2 separate regions of the Homo sapiens genome follow, and region 1 is linked to region 2. Evidence: promoter capture Hi-C in human tissues and cell types (Jung and others, 2019). All regions are on one chromosome and are shown on one strand. The core of a region is centred on a gene start or on the middle of the fragment in contact, and the rest is flanking DNA. Distances in the headings are between cores, read along the strand shown.

Region 1 (2,700 bases), core at 33-2,532, 130 kb after region 2:
CAGAGTGACAGAGCAAGAGTCTGTTTCAAAAAAAAAAAAAAAAAAAGCGAGAGAGAGAGAAACAAACATAAAATCAAACAAAATTAAGAACCCCATAATCAGGAGATACAGGAAAATCTCTGTACTTTCCACTCAATTTTGCTATAAGGCTACAACTATTCTAAAAAATATAGTCCATTAAAAAACAATAAAATCCATAATCTCTTATTTGAATTGTAAATACTAGTATACACTTATGATTTTTTTTCTCTCTAAAAAAGTATTGCATTTCCTAGCAATACCCAAAGACACAGTTTGGAAATGATATCAGCGGGTAGCAATCTAACCCATATAGCGCCTAAATTGTGATCTGCAAACATTTCCCACTAAAAGTAACCAAAGCTGCTTCTTCAAGAAATTAGTTAATCCAAGTCTGTGGCATAAGATGTACAAAACAGGGCTAGATTAAAAAAAAAAACAAAACTATTAGGGTCTCATCAAAATGACAAGATGACAGGGCTCCAACCAGCTCAAGTGCAGTGGTTCACACCTGTAATGCCAGCATTTTGGGAGGCTGATTACAGGTTCACACCTGTAATCCCAGCATTTTGGGAGGCTGAGGACTGCTTGAGGCCAGGAGTTTGAGACCAGCCTGGGCAACAAAGAGAGACTCTGTCTCTACCAAAAAAAAAAAAAAAGAGCCAGGAGTGGTGGTGGTGGTGCATGCCTGTAGTCCTAGCTATCTGGAGGCCAAAGTGAGTGTATCGCTTAAGCCCAGGAAATTGAGAGTGCAGTGAGTTACAGTCACACCACTGCACTCCAGCCTGAACAACAGAGCAAGACTAAGACTCTAAAAAGTAAAAAATGAAAAATGAAAAGGTCCCAACTGGCCAAAGATGGGCTATTTTGAGTATTAAAAGATGTAACACTTTGATGAACTAAAAAACATCAGATATATAAAATATCTAAATATCTAAATTCCTAACAATATTTCACCCACCCAGAAGAAAAGCTTATTGGTCATTCTTGGAGGTTGCTGTGGTATCAGATCATTATGCTATAAACTAAGGAATCAAGTGAAAGAATCTGGTATCTGTCTTGCCTTTGTTATAGGCTTTTTCAGAGTAACCACATAATTAATGAGGAGAGTTCTTTGTAAAGGATCCATAGCCAGTAAATGCAGGAAAAAAAGGGTAGAATTTTACAAATCACTATTCTGCAATCTTTAGTGAAATAATGACATTAGGCAACAATCACCAATGACTGCTGAAACATTAAATGGAAAGATAATGCGGAATTTTCTAGTGGAGGGATCAAGCTGACAACACCTGGACCAACAGGTCAATCTTAATATCAGTGAAGCAATGAATTCTTCCTACCCAAAAAGCGAAAAAGTTGAACCTGAATCCAACCAGCCTCTAGCTCTAACCTTTAGAGAGCTTTAGCTCTATGAGCTCACAGAAAATATGAACATGTTAAATGACACCAAAATCTAAAATGTATAAAATTTTAAGACATATGACCCAGATAACTTGAACAAATAAATGATAAAAAATAAGGAAAAGGGGATGTTATAGACTTAAGGAGACTGAAGAAATACACCACAGGCAAAATATAGACCTATTTTTAGATCCTGTTTCAAACAAAATAACTATAAAAAGACAATTCCATAAGAAGAAAAAAATAAACCCAAAGCTAGCAAAAGGAAATAAAATATTAGAGTAGAAATAAACAAAAGAGAATAGAAAGATAGTAGGAAAAAAAAACAGTTGGTTTTTGAAAAAAAAATCAACAAAATTGAGAAACTTAACTAGATTTAAAAAAAAGAAGATATAAATAAATCAGAAATGAAGAGGGGACATTATAACTGATGACACAGAAATAAAGAATTGTAAGAGAATAGCATGAACAACTGTATGCCAACAAATTGGATAACCTAGAAGATATGGATAAATTTCTAGACACACCCAGCCCACCAAGACCGAATCATGAAGAAACAGAAAATCTATACAGACCAATAGCTATTAAAAAGATTGAATCAGTCATCAAAAACCTCAAAGAGGCCGGGTACGGTGGCTCCCGCCTGTAATCCCAGCACTTTGGGAGGGGGAAGCGGCCAGATCACTTGAGGTCAAGAGTTTGAGACCAGCCTGGCCAACATGGTGAAACCCCGTCTCTACTAAAAATACAAAAATTAGCCGGGTGTGGTGGCGCGTGCCTGTGGTCCTGGCTACTTGGGAGGCTGAGGAAGGAGAATCGCTTGAACCTGGGAGGTGGAGGTTGCAGTGACCCAAGATCATGCCTCTGCACTCCAGCCCCGGCGACAGAGCAAGACCATGTCTCAGCATGCGCGCACACACACACACACACACACACACACACACACACACACACACACACACACTCAAAGAAAAACCTAGAACCAGATGGCTTCACTGGAGAATTCTACCAAACATTTAAAGAAGAATTAATACCAATCCTCCTGAAACTATTACAAAAGTTGAAGAGGAGGAACATTTCTAAATTTATTCTATGAGACCAATATTATCCTAATACCAAAGCCAGACAAATACACTACAAGAAAACTACAGAACAATAATATTCCTGGTGAATATTGATGCAAAAATCCTCAACAAAATACTAGCAAACTGAATTCAACAGTACATTAAAAGGGTTATATACTATGATCAAGTGGGATTTATTCCTAAAATGCAAGAATGG
Region 2 (2,700 bases), core at 152-2,651:
TGGAGGGAGAAAAATTTCATACTCATTTTATGTATAAAGCACAGATATACATACACTGTATAAATAGATATATGGTATGTTTGTAGCATTAAAATTTTATGAGGGAGTGTTAGGAAAAAAAGTCTCAAAAGACTCCTTGGGGCAAGTGATAATGAAAAAAAAGAAGGGGTTCCCTAACACCATTCTAGCTCAGTGTTTTAATTTCTATTTATGCCAATTCCTTAGAAAGAATGATCTTTATGGCTCTTTTAAGCTGAATCAAAGAGCTAAGCAACAGTTGAAACACAGGGAAAGCATCTGGAAGTTGCCAAAAAGCTGAGGCTATGAGAGACTTAGGGCTCATGTCAGCCCCTCGCTTATGACTGCTACCCACATCCAAAGTGAAGATCAAGACCTCAGCCAAGACCACTGCCAATGAAGCTCCGCAATCCCCAAGCAGAAGGCGCTTGGGTGAGGGGTCTTCCTGACTCAAAAGGACTTGAAGCTATGTTGCCAGGCCACTTCACACTGGTTTGAGGCCATGTCAACTATTGAATCAAAGAATGTGGTTGGCTGATGCCTTCCAAGTCACTCACAGACACATACATTTGGACAAATTTTTCTCTTCTCTCTTCTTGAATATCCTTTTTCTTGACTATCTCTGGCCTTCCTTCTCACCCTGGCCTCTCAGATCCCAGTTGTCAGGAGAACATTGCACATCTTGATTGCTGGCCCCTGCATATCCATGATGAGAAACTAGCAAACAGGTTGCTGATCCAAAATGTAGAGATCATTGCTACCGCATATGGCCAGTTAAATGGAATTTTTTTTTTTAAACTAAAAAGCGAAAAAGGAGTGGCTGATTCCTGTAATCCCAGTGCTTTAGGAAGCTGAGGTGGGAGGATTGCTTGAGGCCAGTAGTTCAAGATGAGCCTGGGCAATATAGCAAGACCCCTATCTCCCCAAAAATTAAAATTAGTCAGTCATGGTGGCTTGCACCTCTAGTCTCAGCTACTTGGGAGACTAAGGCAGGAGGATCACTTGAGCCCAGGAGTTCAAGGTTACGGTGAGCTATGATTGCACCACTGAACACCAGTCTGGGTGACAGAGTGAGACCCTGTTTCTTTAAAAAAATCTCTTTTTTAAAAACCAACAAATACATTTTTGTATTTTTAAAAAAACTAAAAATCTTTTTTAAAAAGAAAATGACTTCATTTTTTTTCTTAATCTTTTTTTGGCACATCTTCTTGGCCTTCGGTCTTGGGAAATGACTAAGAATCATTTTCTGCTTCCTACTTCTATCAAAAAACCCCACTTGAACTTAGTACAGTTGGGTGAGGGAGATAACTCGTGCTCACAGGAAGCCACGCACCCTTGAAAGGCACCGGGTCCTTCTTAGCATCGTGCTTCCTGAGCAAGCCTGGCATTGCCTCACAGACCTTCCTCAGAGCCGCTTTCAGAAAAGCAAGGTAAGCAGGGACGGGGACATTCCCAGGGTCTTGGGTCGCACACTGCTTTCTGGACCTGGCTGAGATGCTCAGGCCCCTCACGAGTCTAGGGCTTACACTTGGCACCTACCTTGCAGCCCACACACCTTCTACCTGTCCCCACACCCTCTGAGCCCTCATCTGATGGGCACTAATTTATGCAGGACTCTCTTCCTGCACACATCTGGCCTGAGTCCACATGCCCCAAATAAATAGATCATTTTCATAAAAAATATACACTTGTCTGCTTCTTGCTTCTAGCAAGACTCCCAGGCAAGAAATACCACACACGCAAGGCCTACAGAATAATTCCAGACACTTACCAGCTGTGTCTCCTGGCTTTTTGTTCTCCTGATAATTTCCTAACTCCTCAGCCTTGTTTATGCCTTTCATTTTCACTGGTAAAATGGTGGAGAAAGACTAGAATTGTTAGTCATTCAACAAACTTTTTTGGAGACTCTGTGATGTAACAGGTGTTCAGTATCTATTTGCATGAGTAAACCAAAATCTTTTTTCTTTCTTTTTTTCTTTTTCTTTTCTTTCCTTTTTATTTTTTATTTTTTTTGAGACAGGATTTCACTCTGCTGCCCAGGTTGAAGTGCAATGGTGCCATCATAGCTCACTGCGCCTTGAACTCCTGGGCTCAAGGGATCCTCCTGCCTCAGCCTCCTGAGTAGCTGGTACTATCAGCACGTACCACCACACCCAGCTAACTTTTAAAACAATTTTTTGTAGAGACAGGGTCTCCTTATGTTGCTCACGCTGGCATGGAGCTCCTTGGCTCAAGTGATCCTCCCTCCTCGGCCTCCCGACGTGCTGGGATTATAGGCGTGGGCCACTGCACACCTGGCTTCAAAAGCCCTTTCTTGAGAAACACAGTTTGGGCATTGGGTGTGTGGTGGTGGGGGTGTGGGGAGAGATCGAATGTGAATTTACTGACGAATGTGAAAAGGATTTTAACAAGGAATGTGAGGGTCCCACAAAAGCCTCAAGAAGGAAGCAAGGGAGTGGCCTTGAGTCGGAAAGCCCTTCAGCCCTGAATTGCTCTGATACACATGTCAGCATGTGATTAATTTTAAGAAGATTTCAACCTCTTTATCTGCCAATTTAGATAGGAAGTGAAGGTGGTTGGGGAGGTAGAGGTTTTATTTCTGGCTGTGATGTGTGTTTTCTAGATCCATCAGGTGAATTCCCACTCTAATAGGATTCTGTGCGTAGAATTGATTTTTACGTG

What was found. The method cuts DNA at HindIII sites, captures the fragments that hold promoters and counts their contacts. A contact is called where the count stands out against the background at its distance.
Region 1: a fragment that was not itself captured here is called in contact with the fragment with the promoter of CCR4 in region 2 in 1 of the 25 tissues and cell types used here (adrenal gland).

The regions. Positions count from the first base shown.
Region 1 is chr3:33,085,248-33,087,947 of GRCh38, forward strand. The region is part of intron 1 of GLB1 (galactosidase beta 1); the gene reads right to left. Among named protein-coding and RNA genes, the nearest start is that of GLB1, 11 kb to the right of the region's middle. The HindIII fragment of the contact is 5,700 bases long and covers 1-2,700 here.
Region 2 is chr3:32,950,243-32,952,942 of GRCh38, forward strand. It overlaps CCR4 (C-C motif chemokine receptor 4), which reads left to right and starts at 1,402. Exons shown (of 2, transcript NM_005508.5): 1 at 1,402-1,448. The HindIII fragment of the contact is 21,428 bases long and covers 1-2,700 here.